Regions from separate parts of the Homo sapiens genome. Here region 2 is linked to region 1. Evidence: promoter capture Hi-C in 16 types of primary human blood cells and fetal thymus (Javierre and others, 2016). All regions are on one chromosome and are shown on one strand. Each heading gives the region's core, a stretch centred on a gene start or on the middle of the fragment in contact. The rest is flanking DNA. Distances are from core to core; before and after follow the strand shown. Region 1 holds the start of TRPC7-AS1 (TRPC7 antisense RNA 1). Region 2 holds the start of TGFBI (transforming growth factor beta induced).

Region 1 (5,633 bases), core at 2,291-4,790:
CCTGGAGCAGTGGAGACAGATGCTGAACGTATACATTAGAGTTGTAGACAGAATGATGGCAAGTGTGCAGAGCTGCAGGGGACAGATGGGTGCCTCTGGCGGCATGCACATCTTGAGGAGTGTTAGTGAACTTTCCAGGGAGGACTGGGTCCTTTTTTCTCCCCATCTGCCCTTGGGTCTCTCTCAGGTTCCATTCCTCACCCTGCTGTTTGGCTTCTTCAAGCGCTGCTTCCCCTGCCTGGCTAATTTAGCATGGGCCCAAGAGATGGGGCAAGTGAGGGAGACTGGTAGTGCCTGGAAGATGACTGAGCCCTTTTCCCTGCTTCAGGCTGCTGATCTCTGCCAGCCCTCAGTTCCAGGCCTCTCCAACAGCTCTCCACCAAAAAGGGGCTCTCTTCTGCCCTTCCCCATAGCCATCTGACAGCCATGAATTCATTCCTGGACTACCTTTACCTCCTAGACATGGCATTAAAACCCTAATGGATGGTACTAGTTTTCTTTCCCAGTTTTTAATTACTCAGTGAGACTGGTTTTCCTTTATCTCTATAAGGAGTAGATCTGAGACTTAGGTTTGATAGGAAAAGTGTGCCCCATGGTTTGAAAATGGGGTTGCTAACTGCCTTTGGCTGAAGGCAGATAGAGAAATTGAAGAATGCATCTCAGAAGTATTGATTAGCATTCTGATAAAGATAAATGAGGGATCTGAAAGGCAGTCTTCCAGAAGTGTTAGCAATTTGTCCCCTGGATGAATCAATTGCTCTTCCTACAAAGCACTTAAGCCTCCCTTTTCAGAGTCTGGGTTTAAAAAGGGAGCCACACTGGATGCATGTGGCTCTGTCCCTAGCACTTGGCAAGGGGCTTAGTACATAGCTGCTGAGTAAAGTCATTCCTCATTTGTGGACTTGCCGGGGGCGTGTAGATGAGTGCTTGCAAAAAGCTACAGGTGTTCTCTCCAGAACAATGCACCCATTGCAAAGACAAGCACACAGCCTGAAGGGCACCTTAGGACTTGCAGGCTCTTTGAAATCCATCCATGGTCCTCTATGGATCCTCCTCCTGGGCCAGAGTTTATGTCTGTCAAGTGCCCCTGCATATGCAGTATGCCCAGTACCTGTCAAATGCCTGTTTCTGTCTTGCTTGAATACTAGGTGGTGGTGCAGATTGGGTTGGGAAGGCCCAGGCATGGAGCCATGTCTCATCTTCTGCTGCCTATCTTGGCGGCCAGGAGCCCAACAAATGTTGACTTTTTCTTTTTTTCAGCAGTTGGGAAGATGTGGCAAAACAGGACTTATATTCCTTATGGCAACGATGGGCTGAGCTGAGTGTCTGCAGCCTGCTTTAGGCAGGGCACGGCTGTGCAGTCTGTCATCGTCCCTCGTCACTCCCATCAATGCTGGCACCAACCTCACTTCTATTTATCGCCTCATCTGATCGGCTGTTTCTTATAGCAGAGTTAAGTAAAAAAAATGTTTGCCCCTGAAGACAAAGACGTATGTCTTGAAACACAAGCTCCCTCTTTCTACATATACATACATATATACATTTACACATACACACATGCATATATATATATATATATAATTATTATATATTTATCTTCCCCCCTCTAGAACGTCTGCAAGGCATGTGAATTTGTAACCATCACCCTCCTCACAGGGTTGCTGTGAGGATCCGGTGGACTGATGCATGCAAAGCCCCGAGCACAGTGCCTGGTACACGGCAAAAGCTGAATACTTCTGGCCAGCCCTAGGAATATTTCCTTGGGAGCAGAGGGCTCTTCTGGAAGCTTCTGGAAGATGAATGGCATCTTCGCACACCTGCTCCGAACAGGCATTGTTTGGGACTCAGCGCCCTCTGGTGGCTGCTCTCCCCACTCACACTTAGCCTCTTCCTTGGTTGGGGGGACACTTTGAGGCCTCATTCCTGCCCCTCCCCTTCCTTTCACATGGAGGAAAGTTCTAGAATGGGGTGGGAGAAAACTTTCCACTTGTTCTGCATTTCCTTTACCTCCTTCCTGACCTTAGGTCTGGGCACAGGAGGAGGGGCTTGGAGGTGGAGGCTGGAGCTTCTGGGGGTCCTGGCTGCATGACTCTAAGGAGGGTGGTGCCTTCGTCCCCACCCAACCCCCACCGCATCGGCCCATTCTCCTCCCGAAGCATCCCTGGGCCACAGGTTCCCAAGGCCACCTCCAGACTGGGCCCGCGAGTGGGGCGGCCCTGGTAGCGTATCCACAGAAGTTATTATGAGGTAATTTTATTTCTTTCCATTTTAGGTAAAAATAGTAAATACAAGATAATCTTAATAAAGGTAAAAATACATCATTTGGATTTTGTTGTTGTTTTCTAAACAGTGCTACCTACAGTACAGTTTTCAATTTAGGATTTTTAAACTTTTTTTTTATATAAACAAATAGAACTATTTTGCTATTAGGCTGTGTTCTCATCTGGCACTTAAGAATAGATCACAGGTCACCTCCTGGTTCTGTTTGGATGTGTTGGGGGTGGCAGGGAGGGAGTGAGAAGGAGTTTGTGGGTTGAGGTGTTTGTCTTCCCAGGACACAGCCAGAGCTGCAGTCCCACCTGCAGTGGGAGGGCACAGGTGTGCACCCAAGATGGCCTTTTCCTGCTCTGGCCACAGGGATGGGTTTCACTGTGGCTGGACCAAAGGTCTCACACTCGTCAGGGGGCTGTTCCTCCCCTCCTCCCATGGTAGCTTTTCTTACCCAACCACCTAGATTCACAGCAGTTCTGGGTCTAGGCAGGCCAGCGGGCTGGAGATGTCAGTCATGCTGCAAGAGACTGAGCCAGGAGATCCCCTTCGTGTCCTAGAGGAGTGGGCTGGGGACCCCTCCCCACCAAGGATGGGGGCGAGGGCATCCAACCTGGCCTTGGAATGCTGGTAGAAGTCACAGACGCCGATGTGGGCTGCTAAATGTCTTTGCCCTTGTTCACCCTCAGGTGGTCTTTGTTTAAGTTCTTTCCAAACTTCTCGCTGAGTTGTTGAATCAGGTCTGCCAGCTCACCAGTAGCTTGAGATTTTTCCTCAAGAAGCTCATAGCGCAGGCTGGAGATATCTTGCTTGATTTCCTTCAGCTCGCCTGCAAGGACAGAGGAGATTTTGCTGAGTCTGAGTAGGTGGAAGCTCGGGGCTTGTCCCATGCACATGTGGGCATGTGCATCCTTCCAGTGGAATGTCGGGTCCTGGGCCAGCCCACCAGGGTTGAAGGTGAGGCAAGGGGGGCTCTATTTGAACCCAGAACCACCCAGCTCCCCCACCACTGAAGGACACATCGATCCATAGAAAGCCCTTCTCCTCCCATTCCAGGAAAACCTTTCCCTTAGGGGTTTGAAGGAGGAGTCAAGATCAGGGCTGTGAATTGTGTCTAGCACTTGTTTCATAAAATACTTGTTAGAAAGTTTGTTTCAGAGTCACTAAAGGCAGATTTCAAGACTCTGGAAAACAACCCCATTAACCAGAGCATTGCTTTTGATGATGCTATGTTTTGTTCTGTCATTGTTATTTGTAGGGAGGAGAAACTCCCAGGAGCCTGGAGAGAATGGCTCGGCACAGCAGATGCAGCCGTGGTGGCCATGGAGCTGACCAGCCTCTTGGGAGTGAGCTGGCCACCTGAGCACGGTCCACTCAGCCCACACAAGCAGCAGCACCACCTCGCTGACAGGAGCTTCGTCAATGCCTGCCGCCTCCTCCTTCCATAACGAGGGACCACCTAGCAGGGACTTTCACTTTTATTTCCACAGAGAACCTTGTGGTTAGAAGTCCAATGGGTCTAGGCTGTGGGAATCTTCTTATTAACCACAAACAGATGTCAAAAGGATCTTTCCTAATACTGTAGATACTGCACTTGGCTCGTGTGGGAGTCCACTGTCTGTGGAAACATTACTCGTCTATTTTTCAGGTATGGTCTATACACATAAAAGGCAGAGATCTTAAAGGTACAGTTTGATCCATTTTGACAAATGGATACACCCCCTGTTTTTATCAGATGCTTCACTGAGCCCCCGTTTCATGGTGTAATTTAAGTGCCATGACACCTGGATACCCCCACCTTCTATGATCAGTGATATTCACATGAATCAGTTACATACTGCTTGAGGCTGGCTGGCCTGACACTTGGCCATTGTTTGAGACCTACAAGTAGGTAGGTGGGCTGTTGTCTGCCCCTAAACCATGTCAGCTCAGGGGCAGTTCAGTTATGGCTGAGCTTCGAGCTGCATGCTGGGTGCCCCAGGATGAAGCAGAGGGTCACCCAATGACCAGGCTCTTTCTGTAGTTCCCTGTGGCCCAAGCTAGGAGAACAGAAACTTCAATCATGGATGAGGCTGTTTCTAGGTGGCAAATATTTGTCATAAGTATCTCATTAATTACCTGGCATAAAGTAATTTGCTTTTCATCTAAGAGTAACTGCTTAAAATAGACTGGAAAACAACCCAAACAGTGAAAATAATATAGTTGGTAAACTTCAGTGTATATCAGAGACCCTTGGTGCAGTTTTCCAAAAGCAGATCCCCAGACCCCACTCCAGAGATGCTGATTCATTAGGTCTGGGTGGGGTCTGGGATCTGTAGTTTTAACAGCTAGTTCTGAGGTGGGGAACACTTTGAGAAACACGGCTGTCAGTTAGATGCTGAGAACCTCCCACTGAGACTGGACAGGGCCAGTTAGAAGCAAGCGGCGGCAGACCCTAAACGCAGTGTGCATCTGCTCAGTGGATGTGCACCATGGAATGAAGTACAGCATTGGAATTCTGAACCATCCTGCACTCAAGAGGCATGAGGTTGGCTCAAGGCTGCCATTGCTGTGGGAGGCAGAGGAATGTCCCCTACTCCCAAGATGTCCCCGTCCTGATCCCTGATGTTCTGCCTGTGGGAAACATGACTGTTTCTCCTCAAAGGGGAACTGAGGTGGCAAATAGAATTCAGGTTGCTGATCAGCTGCCCTTAACAGAAGGAGATTATTCTGGATTGTCCTGGTGGAACCAATTCAATCACATGAGTCCTTAAAAGTGGAGGAGGGGCCGGGCGCAGTGGCTCATGCCTGTAATCCCAACACTTTGGGAGGCTGAGATGGGCGGATCACAAGGTCAGGAGTTCGAGACCAGCCTGACCAACATGGTAAAACCCCATCTCTACTAAAAAAATACAAAAATTAGCTGGGCGTGGTGGCACACACCTGTGATCCCAGCTACTCAGGAGGCTGAGGCAGGAGAATCACTTGAACCCAGGAGGCAGAGGTTGCAGTGGGCCGAGATTGTGCCGTTGCACTCCAGCCTGGGCAACAGAGTGAGACTCCATCTCAAAAAAAAAAAAAAAAATGGTGGAGGAGGAAGGCAGAAGAGTGGGGTCAGAGATGGGACAATGGAAGATGAGGCAGGGCAAATGGAGTGTGAGGGTGCCTGATGCCTGCTGCCAGCTCTGAGGTGGTGGGGCTGTATGCACAGACCAAGTGCTGGAGCTCAGGGCAGCCCAGCTGTGGCCAGCAAGGCAACAGGGACAGGCCTGCAGCCCCGTGGAAATGCACTCTGCCGACAACTGAATGAGCAAGGAGACTGAGCCTCCCTGGAGCCTCTGGAAAGGAGCACAGTGCCCTGACAACACTGTGGCCGTAGCCCAGTG
Region 2 (5,770 bases), core at 1,323-3,822, 190 kb before region 1:
ATTTATTGGCCATTTTACTTGAATTGTATCATGTAATCTAGTTTAGAGTCCTGTGAGGTAGGTTTTATTATCCTCTCTATGAGGTTGAATAACTTGCCCAAGACCACACAGCTAGGAAGTAGAAAGACTGGTATTTGAACCCATCTTCTCCTTTTCTTCTCCTTCCTCCTCCTCCTCTCTTCCAACACCTGCTCCCAAGGAAGCTCATCCAGTGCATGACTTTAGCTACCACCTGCTCGTAGTGGTGACTCAAATCTGCATCTCCAATCCTCATACCTATCCTGAGCTCAAGACCTTTGAATATAGCTCCCTCCTGTCCATCCCTCCTGGAAATGCAGGTGGCTTGTTCACACATAATGTGAACACAAATGGAGCACTCTCCTCACACACCCAAATGTGCACCTTCACCAGCGTGCCCAGCACAGGCATCCCTTCCTGCCAGCTATGAGCCTCGAGGTTAGCTCTACTCCCCCTCCCTAACCCTGCATGCCCAAGGGGTTTCCAAGTCTAATCAATGCTACCACTAAAATCTCCCATACACCTGTTCCCTCCTCTCCACTAGCTTGATCACTCCCCATGCAGGCCCTCAGTTGCTTTATGCTCTCAGTAGGCCCTCCTCCAGTGCCCACACTCTCTCCCTTCTCCTTCCCACCTTCTTTCTACCAGAGTTCTAACCTCTCCAAGCCCCGCTTGTCTTTTTCTTTCCCTGGCTGCCATCCTAACTCGCCCCTTCCCTTCTCAGACAAGCTTCTACATGCTACTCATCTCTCCATCAAACCACCATATTCGGGCTTTGGCCATCTGCTCTCCACAGCCAAGTCCCCAGTGGCCTCTCTGCTTCTGACACAGTGAAAGCCATTCAGATCTGTCTTGTTGGCAGCATTCCTCACTTTGAGCAGCGCCCTCCTACTAGGATACCCCTCCTTGACTACAACCCCACATTCTCTACTTCCTGGGCTCTTCTGTCACTGGAGGATGACTCCCAGGTGTGAATCTTCATCCCGCGTCCCTCACTCAAGCCCCCGATCCTCATATCCAGCTTTATCCTCATGGGATGCTTCACCAGGATGAGTCATAAGCACCTCAGACTCAGGGTGTCCCAAACCACTCATCTACCTGGCAAGCCTGCACTCTGCATGTGCCTCATTCTGAACATGGCACCATCACCTGCTGCAATGTCCAGACCACAAACACCCTACAATATCCTTGACTCTCCTTTCTCCCCTTCTCCCTGTATACAGACTCCAAATTCTATTGAGACTATTACCTCCTACACCCCTCACATTTGCCCAGCCTTCCCCATCTCTGCCTCTACCACCATAGTTCAAGCTCTCCCATGGTCCCTTCCTGGTTACCTGTTCTTCTTGCCTCCTTAAGCCTCTCATGACACTGGCCATGTCACTTGCCTCCACCCATCACCCGCTAGGCTCTTAGCTGGAGTCTGGGCCCTGCTACCTTCCTCCCCTTCTTCCCTACCCTTGACTCCACCTCCCTGTGCTTCAGCCAACCAGATAACTTGAGTTTCGTGAATGCATGCCTCAGTTTACCTGATTAACTCATTTTCATCTTTCAGGCCTCAGAGCAGGTATCACCCTGTCAGGGCCAGGTGCCTCTTCTTAGCTCCCAAAGCCCCAGCTACTCTTCATGGAACATCATTGGCTTGGGCTACGGATCTTCCCAAATTGGAGCTTTTTCACAAAGGGCTTAGGTCTCACTCATTCTATTAATCCATCTGTGTCTCCCCAGGGCTAGCAGTGCCAAGTAACTGACAGGTGATTAATAGATGCTTGGGTAAGTATCACCTCTTTACCATGTGACAATTTGTTTACCTGCCTTGAGCTCCTCCAGGGCAGGACTCTTGCCTTTGCAGAATCTATCTGGCAGGTACTGTTGCAGAGATGTTTACTGAAGAAGGGAATGAATTAGTACCAAGGTGAGGACCCCACCCTTCCCCACGGGCTCCAAAAGCAGCTTAGAGCCCAACAAAACCTGCCCCACATTTTTGGCGTTTCTGTGGATCACACGATTTACTCATCTGTCTTTCAATGAGCATGACAGGTGGGGTGGGGGTGGAGGGATTAGAGATTGAGGAGCTGGGGAGGGTGGTCAGCTCCTGGGGTGCAGAAACAAGTCTGATGGGCCATGGTGTTCTGGGAATCAGCACTGCCTCCCCTCACCCCTCCCTGCAGTGTTTTGTAGCCTCAAGATCAGTGAGGGAATCTTCGGGCCCCCAGCATGCAGGACCGAAGCCCCCGAGACAGCTGTCCCTCAGTCCCAAGGTCCCCATTTGGAAGCAGCCACAGGAGGCCTAAGGGACCTATACCCTTGGTTTGAGGAAGACTGTGGCGAGGGAGAGAGGGAGGGAGGGCTGGCAGTGAGGGCAAGGGCTGGGAAAACTGAGCACGGGCACAGTGCGGGAGCGGGTGGGTGCCCAGGGCAGCCAGGGGCGCACGGGTTGGGAGGCGCCAGGCGGCCCGCCCTCCTTGCACGGGCCGGCCCAGCTTCCCCGCCCCTGGCGTCCGCTCCCTCCCGCTCGCAGCTTACTTAACCTGGCCCGGGCGGCGGAGGCGCTCTCACTTCCCTGGAGCCGCCCGCTTGCCCGTCGGTCGCTAGCTCGCTCGGTGCGCGTCGTCCCGCTCCATGGCGCTCTTCGTGCGGCTGCTGGCTCTCGCCCTGGCTCTGGCCCTGGGCCCCGCCGCGACCCTGGCGGGTCCCGCCAAGTCGCCCTACCAGCTGGTGCTGCAGCACAGCAGGCTCCGGGGCCGCCAGCACGGGTAAGCCGAGCCGCCTGGCCAGGGGCTGCGGAAGGTCAGGTAGTCGGGGCTCGGAGCGCAAGCCGCTGGGGGCATTGAACTGGGCTGGGGGCGCAGGGGACAAAGCCCGAACTAAAAACCTTGCAGCATGGAGCGCTCGGACACCAGCCCTGCACGCGGTGGAAGGAGAGAGGGAGGGAGGTGGAGGACCATGGAGGGAAAGCGGGAGGCCGCCGCTTTGTAGAAGGGAGTGGGGAAGTGGACCAGAGACTTTCGACGCAGGCCAAGAGCCTGAGACGGACAGCGCTTTCAGCTTCTCCTCCCAGCCACTGCAGAAAGGGGGAAATGGCAACTCTTTGGCCATAATCACCGTGGGAGGGTGCCAAGGGCAAAGCCCACCCAGCAGTACACCTATTCCAACCCAGCCAGGCCCCCGGCCAGCGACTCCAGACAAGAACCTGGGCCACACACGGTGGCAGCATCTAAGGTGCCCCAGGCTCCTGTGCTCCTGGCCAGGCCCTGCACTCAGACACTGCTGGCACCCGACACTGCTCTCTGGGTACAGCAAGGGCAATGTGGCACTTCTTGTCCTGCCCGATGAAGAGCAGGAGAATGCACTGGGCCCTCACACACACTGTTCAAATGGGGAAACTGAGTCCTGAGTGGTTCCACTTTCCCACAGTCCTGAAGTGTGCACTGGAGCCAGGATTGGAGTCTGTCTTAAAGTAATAGCTGGGTTTGTAAATGTAGGACACTATCATTGCAGGAATTCCTTTGAGACCCTGAAGATGTGTTGGCTTTAGGAGACAAACTCAAGCAGAAGGTCTGGTCTGATAGTGGCCCTAATACTGACCCAGGCAGAGGCAGGCAACATTTCTACCTCAAAAACCAGGCCATACCTGCGTCACAAATACCCAGGCTTTGCTGCAGCTTCCAGCCTACCTGGTTGCACCAACTTCTTTTTCATAACTAGGTAAAACTATATATGAGTAGAATCTTGTAGTGACTCCTCAGAGGAAGCCTAAATACCATCGGGGTCTGGCGTTCACACCCACAAGCAATGCCCAAACCTCCAAGAGACTGGGCAGATCTGTGCTCAAATCAAAACTCATTGTTGGGGGTGATAGAGTTGACTTCACAGGCCCTGAAAGTCTTGGCTCCTTGCACTAGGAGTGCTCTGGGTACGGGTACAGGCTGCCCCTTGTAGGGCATAGTTGCTCTTGTTTCCTCTACTTGTGGCTTTATGGTCTAGGCCTTTCAGGAGTTTGGGGCTCTGGCGGAGAGGGCCTGCTGGGAGCACATCTGGCCACCCTGCAGAGTGAAATCAAACCAGGCCTGGCTGCAACCTCAACACCCTCCTGGAAAGAGGAGAATACTGGGGATATCCTGGGGTCTTTCTGGAAGTGGGAGAATCAGCTTTGACTTGGGCAGTGTGCAGAATAGAGTGAGGGGGGATGTCAGAAAGATGAGAGGGATATGAGGCCTCAACATCAAAATGCAAGCACCTGGCATTTTTATTATCTCTGCCCACCTCTCCGTTGGTCTCTCTGCCTTTCCTGCCAATGAATTGTGTTATGTTTGGGTGCCTCAATTTGCCTAGGAGGGTTCTATTTCTTCTGTATCTTCGCCACTAAGTCAGGAGAAGATCCTTATAGCATGCCCTGCAACAGTGTCACCTGTAAGGGCATCTCTCTGCACAGCCACAGTGAAGGATCCTCAAAGGTATTGAGGGCTTTCCATCAAGAGCCATCTTTACAGCAAACCTCTTTCCCTTCAGAGCCCAGAAGAGTGCTGACCAGCTGGAAAACAGGGTTTTTTTCTTAAATGCAGATGCTCTTGATTATGAGTTCCAGATATTAGATCAACTTCCCCACCATACCCCTGCAGGCAAAGCCTCTTAATTAGCTTCCTGCAGCACAGCTGGAAAGGCCTATTGTAATCTGTGATGGGCAGAGTAATCTAAGAAGTCACAGGAGCACCCCTGTCCCAGTAGAATCTGGATGCGCAGGCACATGAACCATGGCAAAATGGTTGCAGGCACAGTTGTATTTACTCTGATCTAACTGTCCCTGTTAATGCCACAGGGCTGCCTGGCCTGGCACACAGGGCTGTGGCGCCTTGTGCAAATGGATAACGTTGTTCTAGCTCCAGCCTTTCATTCAAAGTGAAAACTGTTAGAAAGGGAAGGAAAACTTTGCTATTTTAAGGAATTGTAGCGTGCTGCCTGATATGAAGGAAGAAATAACAGCTGTGCCTTGCTTGTGCGCAGCACTCGATTGCCGCTTTTGCTTTCGACCTCACCACAACACAGTGAGATCTACTGTTCATGTTCCCATTTTACAGGAGGTGAAACTGCAGCTTAGTGAGGTAGAGAGTGACTTAGTTCAGACACAGAATGCTGTTGGGAGAGTAATAACTATGATATGGTCTCTTGACTCCCAGCTATATCTGTGTTGCTATAGGGAAGGGGAAAAATAATACTGAAAGAGAAGTAAAAATACAATCACACTTCCAAACATCAACCACCAAAAACTGAACTGAATTTCCTGAAGCACTTGGTTTTCAAATCTAAGCTGAACATCAATGCTGTTATTCTTGAGGCCCAGAAGCAACTTGCTCATTTCAATTAAGCTTCAGCATGAACTTCCTATGTACACAGCCCACCCACACTCCCCGATGTGAGAAGGAGAGGGTCACAGCCGCCCCCAGCCTCTGCTGCTGCCACAAGGACAGCAGCAGTGGAAACATTCAGCAAAGGAATGTTGGAGCCACATCCACAAGAGACTCACTGAAGATTCGCCAAACGCCTACGGAAAGTGGCAGGGAATTCATTGACAGTAATTGTTTCCTGCTTGATCAGATTGAAGAGCTTCTGGGATTCTGTAACAATAAATAGGACCGGGGGCTGGAGTATGGCCAGCAAGGACTCTTCAGGGGTTATTCAGGGACTGTCTAACCTGTGAATCCTAGGCAGCAAACAGAAACCAGGTATTCAGAAATCTGGAGGATTTGGTCAG

The links. Contacts are between HindIII fragments. The CHiCAGO score rates a contact against its expected background, and 5 or more counts as called.
Region 2: a contact is called between the fragment with the promoter of TGFBI here and the fragment with the promoter of TRPC7-AS1 in region 1, in 3 of 17 cell types (naive B cells, total B cells and fetal thymus). The highest score is 7.4, in naive B cells.

What each region holds. Positions count from the first base shown.
Region 1 is chr5:136,210,508-136,216,140 of GRCh38, forward strand. TRPC7-AS1 (TRPC7 antisense RNA 1) reads left to right here and starts at 3,541. Exons shown (of 2, transcript NR_046708.1): 1 at 3,541-3,916. It overlaps TRPC7 (transient receptor potential cation channel subfamily C member 7), which reads right to left. Exons shown (of 12, transcript NM_020389.3): 12 at 2,238-3,097. The coding sequence ends at 2,928. The HindIII fragment of the contact is 8,916 bases long and covers 1,785-5,633 here.
Region 2 is chr5:136,026,416-136,032,185 of GRCh38, forward strand. It overlaps TGFBI (transforming growth factor beta induced), which reads left to right and starts at 2,573. Exons shown (of 17, transcript NM_000358.3): 1 at 2,573-2,774. The coding sequence starts at 2,641. RefSeq lists an enhancer at 4,790-4,859. The HindIII fragment of the contact is 4,637 bases long and covers 746-5,382 here.